Regions from separate parts of the Homo sapiens genome. Here region 1 is linked to region 2. Evidence: promoter capture Hi-C in human tissues and cell types (Jung and others, 2019). All regions are on one chromosome and are shown on one strand. Each heading gives the region's core, a stretch centred on a gene start or on the middle of the fragment in contact. The rest is flanking DNA. Distances are from core to core; before and after follow the strand shown. Region 1 overlaps RNASEH1 (ribonuclease H1). Region 2 holds the start of COLEC11 (collectin subfamily member 11).

Region 1 (7,238 bases), core at 2,659-5,158, 55 kb before region 2:
CTGCAGTGGAGGTTAGGGCTGATCAGACTAGAGATGTGTTGAAAATGGAACCAAAAGCCTGTGCTGGCAAACTGAACAGGGTAGGACACACAGCGGGGTCCAGGCGTGAGCACTGTCGGTCCCGGCCACGAGAGAGCCAGCACCAGGTCCTGTACTGACCACAGACACGTCACTGCCCCAAGACAGGGCGGTCGTGTGCTGCTCAGATGGTTAAAACAGAAAAAGAACATTGCCAGCAGAGGGAGGGCCCAGAGACTAGAGCAGGATCTCTCTGCCTCTTACTTTACACATTAGAGAAAGGAAAGGACTTGTGGAAAAATACTAATTTCATTGCACTCACAGAGTAGAGAATTTTAAAAGAATGACGTGTGTGGCTTTATCTGGTGAGTCACATGTCATACAGGGAAGAACGGTCGGCCTAGAGTCAGAGGAGCTGACTCGGCTGCAGTTTCCTCCCTGTAAAATAAAACAAATGGGCCTTGACAAAGACCTTCCCGGACCAAGCTTGCGTCCACCGCTCCGAGTCCCCTCCCCTCTGGGACCAAGCTTGAGTCCACCCCTCCGAGTCCCCTCGTGGACCAGGCTCTGACCTTGGGCTCTGTCCTGGGCTGGCTCCGTTTGAGCAAATCCTGCTGAGCCTGCTTGGGGAAACCCACCCTGACTCCTGACGTTTCCACTTAGGAATTTCTGTCCACAGGCCCCACCCCTGCTCCGGGGCTGTCAGCTCCCACCCATCCCTGTACTCGGATTTGAGCCCCATCTCTCTCCTTTTCTGCAAAACCTCACTGGAGTGGGCCCTTGAATAATGCCTCTTCACACCCTTAACAAGAATTTCCTTTTTTTCTTTACCAAGCATCCCAACCTACCATTTCAGCCTGCTCAGGCTGCTGGGACAAAATACCACAGGCTCGGGGGCTTGAAACAACAGAAATCTATTTTCTCCCAGTTCTGGAGGCTGCAAGTCTCAGGTCAAGGTTCCCGCTGGTTCCGTTTCTGCAGAGGCTCCTTCCTGGCTCGCAGAGGCTGGTGCGTGGTCTGTCCCGGGAGAGTGCCCCTGCAGGCAGGAGGGAGCACGAGCACTCTGGGGTCTCTCCTTATAGGGACACCCATCCCATCGGGTCAGGGCCTCCCCACCCTTATAACCTTAACCCCAGTACCTCCTTAGAGGCCCCTCTCCAAATGGCCACGCCAGGGATTAGGGGTTTGACATGAATTTTGGGGGATCCATTCAGTTCCTAAATGTGATCCCCATCAATTTTCTTCTGGGTTTCAAAATGTTAGGTTAAAGCATGTTGTCTACCTAAAAGGAGCACACTACATATTATACGAATCTCAGATACACACACTGTGCCATGTCACAGAGTTTCACAGAGCAGATGGGAGCTGCAAAGACTGGGGTGGGATCTGAACACCTCAGCTAAGCATGTGTCCACCTGGCCACTGGGGTTTCTGCTGGTCAGAGTCCCACAGCACCGATGCCCTTTACCTGCCCTCTTTGAAGGCAGACCTTTCGAATATTTTTTATCAAATATTTATTAACAGGTATTACAACATGATTCAAAGATCAAGGTAACATATAAAAAGGCTAGGCACAGTGGCTCATGGCTCTAACCCCAGCGTGTTGGGAGGCCGAGGCTGGAGAATTGCTTGAGCCCAGAAGTTGAAGACCCGCCTGGACAACGTAGTGAGACCCCAGCTCTAACAAAAATAAAAATTAGCTGGGAATGGTGGCACACACTTGTAGTCCCAGCTACTCAGGAGGCTGAGGCTGGAGTATCACTTGAGCTCAGGAGGTGGAGGCTGCAGTAAGCTTTGACAGCGCCACTGTACTCCAGCCTAGGTGACAGAGCAAGACCGTGTCTCAAAAGAAAAAAAAAAAGATGAAAGAAAATCTTTTTGGCTGGGCACGGTGGCTCATGCCTGTAATCCCAGCACTTTGGCAGGCCAAGGCAGGCAGATCACCTGAGGTCAGGAGTTCGCGACCAGCTTGATCAACATGGAGAAACCCCATCTCTACTAAAAATACAAAATTAGCTGGGCATGGTGGTGCATGCCTGTAATCCCAGCTACTCGGGAGGCTGAGGCAGGAGAATTGCTTGAACCCAGGAGGCGGAGGTTGCGGTCAGTTGAGATCGCACCATTGCACTCCAGCCTGGCCAACAAGAGCGAAACTGTCTTAAAACAATTTTTTTTTTTAAGATAGCATACAGGCTGGGCACAGTGGCTCACACCTGTAATCCCAGCACTTTGGGAGGCCGAGGCGGGTGGATCACATGAGGTCGGGAGTCGGAGACCAGCCTGGCCAACATGGTGAAACCCTGCCTCTACTAAAAATACAAAAAAAGTAGCCGGGCGTGGTGTTGGGCACCTTGTAGTCCCAGCTACTCCGGAGGCTGAGGCAAGAGAATTGTTTGAACCCAGGACGCAGAGGTTGCAGTGAGCCGAGATGGCACCACTGCACTCCAGCCTGAGCAACAAGAGCAAAACTCCATCTCAAAAAAATATATATAATATATATATATAAAAGATAAAAAGATAGCATACAAAGACGCACACCCCAGCAAGTCTCATTACCGCCCTGTTCCCACCCACAGCATCCTCTCCCCATTCCCAGTGTAATAGAGTAATACTTCACTGTTTGTGAATTTTTATTTATCCTCTTTGACACAAAAGGCAGCCTGCTGTAACATGAATCAGGTACTTTCCTTTTTCCACTTAACAGTGCCCAGAGCACCTTCTGGTCTGTGGGTACTTATGGGGTCTGTCACTCTAACGCTGTTTATTCCACGGCCGCTTCAGGTCCCAGTATAGTTTCCAGTTCTCTGATATTAAAAACCTGGTCATCTTTTATTTTTATGTGTGCAAGGTGTATCTACAGCATACAATCTGCAGAGTGGGGACTGGTGGATTAAACATCAAAGCATTTGTAATTCTGAGAGTGGGCCACGCCTCTGTCTGGTGTTGAGTGGTGCCCATCCGCACTCAGCACCAACACAGGTGAGCACACGTTTCCAGGCAGCCTCAGCAACATATGCACTGTTGCTAATATCATACAGAGAAATGATGTCTTGGTGTTTTAATCTGCATTCTCTCGTGAGTAAAGCCGAGCATCTTTTCATTCCTAAAGGGCCATGAGTATTTCTTTTTCTGTAAACAATTTGGCCAATCCATTCTTCTGAGTTGTTAGTTTTTTTTCAATTTCTAGTTCTTATATATTAGGGAAATTAGTCCTTTGTGATATGAGTTGCAACTTCTTTTCCTAGTTTGTTTTTGCTTATGGCTCTTCAAAACCTTTTTATTTATACGTAGTCTTCTTTCATGATTGCTGGATGTTAAATCCTAGGTTAAAGACCCTTGTTTACTGTTGAGGTACTGCTTTTAATATACACGAATCTGTGCATATTTAGGTTTAGAGAACAGCTCTGTCAGCTGCGGGCAGAGACAGCGGTCCACTTGCCCTGTTTCCCACTTCATTCATATTTGTCTTTGTCCAAAACCCTACCACCATATACTGGCGGCTTCCCGTATCACCAAAGAATCTTAATTTGGGGGCGTATTTTGATGAAAGTTGTTCTTTGACAAATACTTATGTCAACACAATATCAGAGTCACCTTGTGCCAATTCCTGTCTCTCAATGGGCAATTAAGAACCAAAGCTGCTTGAACGAGCTGGCCAGCATAGTCAACGCCTTCTGTGTGCCAGGAGACACAATGCAGGCAGATGCAGCCGGCCCTCCCCATGTTACCCCTGAGTGTTTACGAACTGAGGAACCACGACCACCACGATCATTGCTACGTGTTTTGTTCTGATGACATCCTGAGTTCTGAATGTCAGCTCATCACGTTATTAAAAAAGGGGCTTTAGTTGAGTGACCTATTCCTTCTTGCTCCAGAACTACTAGAATATTAGAATTAGGAAAAAGACCAGAAATCTACCCCGAGGCCCTCCTTTTCAGCCACAGCATCTGTGGCCCAGACTTGCTCAACTTGAAATGAACATCACCTGAAATCAGGAGTGCAGCTTTCATTGGTTCCTATTTACAGTTACCCAAGCTGTCCACCAGCCAGGAGGGCTTTTTCTTTCTCGTTTTGTTTGACCTCCGGCTTCGTGCACTTTTGTGCCTGTCCTACAAGATGGCAGAGTGGCTACCTTCAGGCTTCAGCAATGGGGTGACACCGTGACGCTCCAGTACCGGCAGACACCAGGAGGGGAGTTCTGCACAAAGAACATTTCTTCAACGGCCTCTATTTGTGCGGCACGAACATCCTATTAAAGCAGCACCAGTTGAAAGCTTATATATTCCACAATATGTAGCACAATCTGATATGACAGTCACTCAAATATTTTGATTTGGAGCTGATGAAGATGCAATTATATATCATTGTTAAGTTTCTAAAGATATAAAAAATGCAGCTGATTTTTTGATTCTCAGTAATATATTTTCTTTTAATAAAAAAAAAATTGCCCCCTAAAAATTTAAGATTCCTCTTTAAAAGTGGTTGGACCTTTCCTTCCCTCCGGCTTCATGCACTTTCTGCTGTACTGACATCACTTTTGTTTTTTGTTTTGAGACAGAGTCTCACTCTATTGCCCAGGCTGGAGTGCAGTGGCACAATCTTGGCTCACTGCAACCTCTGCCGCCTGGGTTCAAGCAATTCTCCTGCCTCAGCCTCCCGAGTAGCTGGGATTACAGGCACCTGCCACCGCGCCTGGGTAATTTTTGTATTTTTAGTAGAGATGGGGTTTTACCATCTTGGTCAGCCTGGTCTTGAACGCCTGACCTCGTGATCCACTTGCTTCAGCTTCCCAAAGTGCTGGGACTACAGGCGTGAGCCACTGCGCCCAGCCAACATCATCTGTGTTGTGAAAATCCCACAGACCGTAAAGTTTCTAAAGGCACAACTTTTCATCTATTTCCAATTCTGGTTCAATTTTTTTTTTTTTAAATCACAGATTCTCAGAAGACAGAGGCAGCAGCAGGAGCATGCTTTTTGAATCTTCTCAAATCCCCACCTAAAAACAGAACTACTAAACAGCAAAACCAAAAAACTTATGGACATTTGTAACAGAATGAGGTGACAAGTGTTGACAAGGATGTGGAGTGAACTGGAACTCTCCTGCCTGACTGGAGGGAATGTAAAGTGTAAAGTTCACACTTGGAAAAGTTTCACAGTTTCTTAAAAAGCACACACCAGCTGGCTGGGCTCACACTGTAATCCCAGCACTTTGGGAGGCCGAGGCAGGCGGATCACGAGGTCAGGAGATTGAGACCATCCTGACTAACACAGTGAAACCCCACCTCTACTAAAAATACAAAAAAATTAGCCGGGTGTAGTGGCGGGCACCTGTAGTCCCAGCTACTCGGGAGGCTGAGGCAGGAGAATGGTGTGAACCCGGGAGGCAGAGCTTACAGTGAGCCAAGATCACGCCACTGCACTCCAGCCTGGGTGACAGAGTGAGGCTCCATCTCCAAAAAAAAAAAAAGAAAAAAAGAGCACACACCTGCCATATGACCAAGCATTCCATTCCAAGGCATTTACCCAAGAGAAACAGAAGACAAAGACGAGGATATAAATGTTCACGGCAGCTTTATTTGCTTTATTTTTATTTAGAAATTGGAAATAATCGAAATATCGGTCAACAGGTAAATAAATAAACTGTGGTATATCCATGCAATACAAAATGTGGATTATTGATGTACACAAAATGGGTGAATGCCAAAATAATTATGCTGAGTAGAAGCACCTCCCCCCACAGTACTTGCTCTGCGATTCCACTCAGATAAAATTCTAGAATATATAAATTAACCTTTAGTGAGAGGGAGCAGACCAGTGGTTGCCTGAACATGGAGGACACGAGGGACGGTTTAGACCGGGGTGTGAAACTGCTGTTGGTGGTGATGGACATGTTCTGGCGACAGCTTCACAGGCAAATGCATCGGTCACTTCACGTATGTGCAGTTCATTACCTGTCAGTTACACCTCAACAGAGCTGTTTTAAAAAGCAAGGTGGGGCCGGCTTTGGTGGCTCACACCTGTAATCCCAGCACTTTGGGAGGCCAAGGAAGGAGGATCGCTTGAGGCCAGGAGTTTAAGACCAGCCTGGGCAACACAGTGAGACACTGTTCCTATTTTAAATAACAAAACAAAACAAAAGTGGTACAATAACAACTTTTAAAACTCAAAAAGAAACAAAGAAAGAGATAAAAGAGATTCAAGAGACAGTGGCAAACACTGAGAACAGCCAATTTAGATTTCAACATACAGATAACAGGGATCCCCACAGAAAAAAGCCAAAGCAAGAAAAATGTAACACTAAACTCCAGTTCAAGCAAATCTTCTTAAAATAACAGATATGAAGTACACATAGAAAGAGCACACCATACGCTTGCAAATATGGACCAGGACAACCAATACCAACACATGACACATTCGAATAAAACGGCCGACTTGACAGAAAAAGGAAAAAATCCTTTGGGCATCTAAGGAAAAACAGCATATGACTGTCAGGGGAAGAAAACAAGATTCATCAGGCTTTTCATGCATCACTTTATGCTGGAAGAAAACAGAATAAAACAAGATACTCAAAGAAAATCTGGGCCAAGAATTTCGTATCCAGCAAAACTGAATTCAACATCAGAAACTCAAGGAATACTGTCCCCAAGATGACACTGACTATAGACTGGTTATGAGACCTGAACACACAGAAATGAGTCAATGGTGGTAAAAAGGAGCAATTTTTCTGACAACGTAGACACAGTGCTGTTTTCATCATCACAATTAATGCTATGGTATTAGTATTTTTTTTAAATGCTAAATGCTAAAGAGGAATAAAACAAGTGAGTGATTAAGGGATGGATATTCCATGCCATTGTCCTGTGTCTTGAGAAGCAGGATTCCGAGTGCAGGAGACACAGACATCATATAGAGGAGGCTATGTAAAGGCCCCAGGACCCTGAATTTGTATTGGGAATATCAATATAGGCTCAGAAAATATTCTTCCTTTAAATATGTGTGTGCAATGTTTGTATTTTTTTAAAGCTCCGTCCAAAAATCTAGAAATAATGACCAACGCAATAGCAATGAGCATCCTAAACTGGATCTGAAATACCATCTCTACCAGAGACTCTGGGAAAAATAATGGATTCCAAGTGTTAAACGGAATTAAGTTTGGCCTAAAACTGCCTCTGTACATAGTGACTTATAACCTCACTTAATGTATAAGCAAACTGGGACCT
Region 2 (7,111 bases), core at 588-3,087:
GCTGGTCTCTAACTCCTGACCTCAGGTGATCCTCCCACCTTGGCCTCCCGAAGTGCTGGGATTACAGGTGTGAGCCACCACGCCTGGCCTACTTGGTTTTTTAAATGTTTGCCTTGTATCCTGTCACCTGTCACACTGATTTAATAGTTTCCAGGAGCTCTTTTGTAGACTCTGGGATTTTCTAAGTAGACAACCATGTCATCTGCAACAAGGGACAGAGTTATTTTATTTTTCGAATCTACATGCTGTTTATTTCCTTTTCGGGCCCTGCTGGTGTGCCTAGAACTTTAGCACTGCATTGAGTAAGAGGTAAGAGTGGACACCCTTGCCTTGTCTTGATCTCAGGAAGGAAACATTCCATTTTTGCCCATGAAGTATGATGTTAGCTGTGGCTTTGCCTTTGACAGATGCTCTTTATCAAGTTGAGGAAGGTCCCCTGCACCTATTTTTCTGAGAGTTTTTATCATGAAAGGTGTTGGTTTATGCCAAATGCTGTTTCTATATAAATTGAGATATTCATTTGATTTTCTTTGTTAGCTTGTTAATGGGTTTTTATCAAAGGAGCTTTGAATATTGACATAGCCTCACATTCCTGGATGAAACCCCATTTGGTCATAGTTGATAAATCTTTTTCTATATTGCTGAATTCTGTCTGTTAATATTTTATTAAGGATTTTCTCATCTATATTCATGAGGGTTATTGGTCTATAGTGTTTTTGTTCTGTCTTTGTCTGGTTTTGGTATCAGGGTAATAATCAACTTTATAAAATGAATTGGTAAATATTCCCTCCTCTTCTATTTTCTGGAAGAGGATGTGTAGAATTGGTGTTAATTTTTCTTTAAACGTTTTGTAGACCCTCCTGTGAAACCATCTGGCCCTGAAATGTCTTTCTGGGGAGCGTTTAAATTGCAAGTTCAATTCCCTTCCTTGGCATAGGGCTGTTGAATTATCTGTTTCATGCTGGGCATGTTGTAGTTCGTGTTTTCAAGAAGTGGTTCATTTTGTCTAAGTTGTCAAATTTATGTATAACTTCAATAATACGTTTTAAATAAAGAATCCATTATTTTTCCTTAATTTTATTATGTGTGTGGAATTTGTGTTTTTACAGTTTTATTTTATGATTTCTCAGTCTAAATAAATATTCACCTTTGAACCTAGCTTCTTATGATTGTAATTTTATATGTATCTTTTTCTTAAAGAAGGTTCCGCTATCCCCCAAAACATGCAAGATTCGGGCTGCATAGAAGCTGGATCTGTCCAGCCCCTGACTAACATTTGTTTCTGGCATTAAATGAAACTTGCCTTTAAATGAAACTTAAATGCGTAGAGTGAGTTTCCGGACTCACGTGTGGCCAGGTCTCCACAGGCCGTGGTCAAGCTCTTGCTGACTTTTGAAGCGAAATCCCATATGAACAAAGGAAAGGAGATCAGTCAGCTGCCCTCGTTTCTGTCTGATTGGTGCCAGGTGATGAGCGTCCCTCCTCTTTATGCTCTTTTGAATTTCCACAGTAGTCATGCTTATTTTTTCAAAAAACGAAAAGAAAGAAGAGAAAGCCAAAAAAGAAACAAAATTGGGATGTTCGGGTTGGAGAGTTAGCAGGGGCATCTCCAGGAGGGTCCTGCCCCCCACCCCAAAGCCGGCCTCAGGGAGTTCCAGGCGTTCCCACACTCCCCAGGCAGGACGGTGGACGCAGCGCAGACAGGAAGCTCCCCGAGATAACGCTGCGGCCGGGCGGCCTGATTTGCTGGGCTGTCTGATGGCCCGGGCCGAGGCTTCTCCCTGCGCCTGGGACTGCGGCCGCCTCTCTAAATAGCAGCCATGAGGCGCCTGGGGGCAGTGTCCTCGCGGGCCAGCGACGGGCAGGACGCCCCGTTCGCCTAGCGCGTGCTCAGGTAGGAGACTCTGCCCGGGGCTGCAGCTGAGGGTTTCACGGGGCTATGACAGTGCAGAGGGGAGGCAGGCAGGCTTCCAAACTGGGCGCGAGGTGGGCTCCTGCTGAGCGAGGAGGATGGGAATCTGTCCCTAGATCCAGGCAAAAGATTGAGTCTCAATAAATCTGGCACCAGAGTTCCAAAGTTTGATTAGTTCATGGCGGAAATTCGTGGAGCCTATTGATGAGATGGGATCCGACCCATGAGAGGTGCTGGATGATGGAGTCACCCTCTTGGGTGGCAGATTTCAAACAGCCCAAGGCCCAGGGGGCTAAACAGTCTTCGCTAATTCCAAACCGCAGTGCAGTACCTGGTCTCACAACCTGACGATTGTTCCTGAGCCTGAGCAGCGTCTGACGGGCCAGGCGGACAGCAGCCACGACTGCCCCCAGGGACCAGTGGCTCTGTGTTGGGCTCAGGAACGGGGATCAGAGAGGTGGGGGAAAGGTGGGCCTTGCTTTGGCAACTTTCCAGGGAAAGACTTTGAGTTCAGATGGGGTCATCTAAAACCAAGTGGGGTCATCTTGTCTCCAAAATTGGAAAGGAGGAAAGTTTCCTAGGGCCGCTGCCTCCTACCTGGATGCCTTGCGCTAGGAACTGGCGGTCTTTTTAGAGCTGAGGTGATGTGGTCGTTCTCAATTTAAAGATGAACGTTTAAAGCCATCTCATGTGCATAGCTGGAATTTTGGTTTGATGGGAAGCACTTTGCCTGTGGTAGGCAGAGCACTGCCCCAATCTTTCACAGCTATTCGATTTTGTTTACAATTTTGAAAAATCCATGTACCGTAGAAGAGAGCACACCGGTAATGTGCTGACCGCTGGGGGAAGATAAGAGAGGATAGGTGCCTTCTTACTCTGTGCTCTTGGTAAGAAGCTAAGAGGAGCGTGTGCTGTTGTGGGTGGAATCCAGGCTGCCCCAGAAGGTGCTCTGTCACTGTAGGGAGGGAAACACCGCGGTGGGGCTGGGGCAGTCCCCAGTGAGAGGAACCTCCTCATGCTTCAGGGATGTGGTTCTTAGGAGGTATTTGTGGTGCCTGTAAGATGCTGGGCCTTGCTGTAGATACTTAATGAAAAAGTAGAATAGCATGTTTGGCAACTGAAGCCATGATTTTTTCTCATTGTCTATTTCATTTTTTTTTTTTTTTTTGAGATGGACTCTGGCTCTGTCACCCAGGCTGGAGTGCAATGGCACCGTCTTGGCTCACTGCAACCTCCGCCTCCCAGGTTCAAGCGATTATCCTGCCTCAGCTTCCTGAGTAGCTGGGATTACAGGTGTGCATCATGGCACCTGGCTAATTTTTGTACTTTTTAGTGGAGAGGGGGGTTTCACCATGTTGGCCAGGCTGCTCTCGAACTCCTAACCAGGTGATCTGCCCACCTTGGCCTCCCAAAATGCTAGGATTATAGGCATGAGCCACTGGGCCTGGCCCCATTGTTTATTTCATTCATAACATGTATTTCCTCTCAGGATTCCACGTTTAACCCCCTCTCCCCTGCTTGTCAAGTCTGCCCCTTCCATTGATGGGAGGGCCCTGAGCGTCTTGGGCCCTGGCTGGGAGATAAGGATGTTGTTCTTAAAGAGGTCCTGGGGGTAGCTGTGGCTTCTCCGTTTACAAAATGGAATTCCTCTTCTAAGAAGGCAGTCAGAGGGCGAGACCTCTGGGAAGCAGAGACTCCTTCGGGCGCCTGGGTGCCCTCACCCTGTGCCTACCTGCCCTGGTTCCTGCTGTGCGTCTGAGAGCGCCCCGCTGCAGGGCCTGTGCCTCCTTTGTGCCCATAGGCCTAGCTGGGGCCCCTCGCAGGAAAGTGGACAGAAACTCTGTGAATGGGCAGCGGGGTCAGTGAATGAGTGGAGCGAGTGAAGGCATGAGAAATCCCAGCCTGGGCTGTTCCGGGGATCAGTGGATGAGTGAAGTGAGGGAAGGCACAAGAAATCCCAGCCTGTGCTGCTCCGGGGTCAGTGAATGAATGGAGTGAAGGCACAAGAAATCCCGGCCTGGGCTGCTCCGGGGTCAGTGAATGAATGGAGTGAAGGCACGAGAAATCCCAGCCTGGGCTGCTCCGGGATCAGCAGATGAGTGTGAGTGAAGGCACGAGAAATCCCACCTGGGCTGCTCTGGTGTCAGTGAATGAATGGAGTGAAGGCATGAGAAATCCCACCTGGGCTGCTCCGGGGTCAGCGGATGAATGGAGTGAAGGCACGAGAAATCCCGCCTGGGCTGCTCTGGGATCAGCAGATGAGTGTGAGTGAAGGCACGAGAAATCCTGCCTGGGCTGCTCTGGGTTTCTCTGCTCACTACTCACCCCTTTTCTTGGGAGACGGAGCCTGATCTTTGTTGAAGCCACTCCTGGGACATCTGCGGAGTGAGGGCAGTAAAAGCCTTGCTGAACACCTGGTTATACCTGAACAGAATCACTTCTAGCTAGAGGGGAAATTCCCATGTCAGCCTTTGATTCCTGAGACATTAAAAAAAAAAAAAACTAAACCCAGTTTGCATCCAGCAAACACTGAGAAGTGAGGTTCGACTTGCGTACTGAGTGGGTGGGGAGGAAGAGTTTACTATTGCTTTCAGAAGCCACATACCACAAGGAGCCAAAATACTGCTGCTGAGGCAGGAGCCGGGGAGACTACGGTTATGAGCCCAGTGGACCAGCACGTCTGGCTACAAACCTTGTGGTGCCCCTTGTTTTGACATTATTTTTGTATTTTTTATTTTTATTTTATTTTATTTATTTCATTTTTTTGAGACTGAGTCTCACTCTTATCACTCAGGCTAGAGGGCAGTGGTGTGATCTCGACTCACTGCAACCTCCACCTCCCGGGTTCAAGCGATTCTCCTGCCTCAGCCTCCCGAGTCACTGGAATTCCAGGCACCCGCCACCATGCCCAGCTAATTTTTGTATTTTTAGTAGAGACAGGGTTTCACCATGTTGGCCAGGCTGGTCTCGAACTCCTGACCTCAGGTGATCCACCCACCTCGGCCTCCCAAAGTGGTGGGATTACAAACGTGAGCCACTGTGCTTGGCCCATTTCAACATTATTAGGAATTTCAGGACAATGACAGCAGGGCAGTAACCCACGTCTGCAGACTGCCTGCCCTGGAAATACTGTGTAGACATTAGATATAATAAAGATTTGGAAACACGGAAACACCACGAGGAGAAGAGCAGAAGGCTCTATTTGCGATGCAATTGTGAACTTTCGTTCTGTTGTTTGTTCCTTTATTTACTCATTCACTTGTTCACTCAGTTTGGTGCCTGCTAAACTGCAGGCTTCTGCGTGCCCAGAGACCTTTACGAAGCTGTAGCTTGCACAGATCACTTGCATGTGGACCCAAGCCTGGCAGCGAACAAGGAAGGTGGGAGGAGTGAAGTCAGCTGGTGGGGTCCTGGGTTTCCGCTTTTCGGTTGCCCTTATTGTTCTAATATCCGCGTGAGCACAGGGGAGAAGGGTGTGGGCACAGGCAGCGGGTGAGGGGTGTGGAGAGGAGGCTGGAGGCGGACCGTGGGTGAGGGGTGTGGAGAGGAGGCTGGAGGCGGGCCGTGGGTGCGGGGTGTGGAGAGGAGGCTGCAGGCGGAGTGCCCAGCTGCGTGGCCTGGTGGTGGAGTTGGGGCCGATTGTTCAACTTTCCATATTGCATTGTCTTTAGAGTGAGGAACTGTAATAAGGTACAAGGTTGTTTTGGGAATTAAATCAGATATGTGTCCACATTTGGTATACAACGTATATTGGCTCCTTGTTCTCTCCATCAAAAACCTATTTTTAAAAATCCCTTACATCGTGACTGAAGGAGGAAGGTGAGCCCTTCCTTTGATGCATGGGGAGAGGGTAGTCGGGCAGAAAGAGGAAACAGCCAACAGTGCTGGGAAGCCCTGGATTTCAGTCCCACCCTCACCACACACTGGTTACGCAATGCTGGGAAGCGTTCTTAATTTTTCTTTTCTTTGGCTTCCTCATCTGTGACGAGTGCGTGATGGTGCTGATCTCTGTGCAGTGTATGGGAGTTATTTTCCTCCAACCCAGTGGACGTTCTGTACCCCTGTCCTTTACAAAGTCATTTCTGTAAGGGGCTCTGCAGGAAGAAGCCAGGTCCTCATCTGGTGCGCGATGACCCACACCACAGGACGGCACTGAATGGAAACGGGTTTCCCTGTACCCATTCTGCGGGAGAATTGACTGACGCAGAGGCACTGTGCGGGGGACAGGCATTCTCAGATGAGGAACCCTGGCTTCTAGCCCTTTCCCTGGACTGGGAGCCCATGCATGTGATCACAGTAGGATCAGGAGCTGCCATTTGGTGAGCATTTGCTATGTGCCACACTGGGTCACGGTGCCACACGCATTAATTACCGCTGCAATCCCTTCAAATAGCCTATCTCCATATTAAGAGAAGGGGAGGGGCTTGCAAACGGCATGTGGTGTGGCCAAGGTGCTGGTAAGTGGTTCAGTGGATTTGTAGCTGTCCCTCACCCACTGCCCTCAGGATGCCAAGTCCCGGGAGGTCTCTGGGCAGTGCCATGGCCCCTCCATGGCCCAGGGAGGCAAGCACTGGCCTACTGGCCCCACAGTCATGAGGGTGAGCTCCACGCCACCAGCTGTGCCCTTCCTCTCCCAGCACCCGTCAGTGGCATGCAGTCTGCCTTAATAAGATTAGATAATCCATAAGCTACAACTACATAAAGTTGAATATAAAGACACTGAAGACTATGGATACTGTGCTGTGATATCTTATAAAACTCAAAAGCGGCCAGGCACGGTGGCTCAAGCCTGTAATCGCAGCACTTTGGGAGGCCGAGGTGGGTGGATCATGAGGTCAGGAGATGGAGACCATTCTAGCCAACACGGTGAAACCCCTTCTCTACTAAAAATACACAAAATTAGCCAGGCGTGGTGGCGGGCAGCTGTAGTCCCAGCTACTTGCGAAGCTGAGGCGGGAGAATGGCGTGAACCCGGGAGGCAGAGCTTGCAGTGAGCTGAGATCGAGCCACTGCACCCCAGCCTGGGTGACAGTGCGAGACTCTGTCTCAAAAAAAAAAAAAAAAAGCAAAACTCAAAAGCAAGCAAGGCTGGGCACAGTGGCTCACACCTGTAGTCCCAGCAGCTTGGGAGGCCGAGAGAGGCAGATCACTTCAGCCCAGGAGTTTGAGACCAGCCTGGGCAACATGGTGAGAACCTGT

What was found. Contacts are between HindIII fragments. The study calls those that stand out against the background at their distance.
Region 1: a contact is called between a fragment that was not itself captured here and the fragment with the promoter of COLEC11 in region 2, in 1 of the 25 tissues and cell types used here (thymus).

What each region holds. Positions count from the first base shown.
Region 1 is chr2:3,535,858-3,543,095 of GRCh38, forward strand. It overlaps RNASEH1 (ribonuclease H1), which reads right to left. Exons shown (of 8, transcript NM_002936.6): 8 at 5,573-7,238. Among named protein-coding and RNA genes, the nearest start is that of RNASEH1, 19 kb to the right of the region's middle. RefSeq lists enhancers at 35-1,234, 142-436. The HindIII fragment of the contact is 6,767 bases long and covers 526-7,238 here.
Region 2 is chr2:3,593,275-3,600,385 of GRCh38, forward strand. COLEC11 (collectin subfamily member 11) reads left to right here and starts at 1,838. Exons shown (of 7, transcript NM_024027.5): 1 at 1,838-1,894. The HindIII fragment of the contact is 12,548 bases long and covers 1-7,111 here.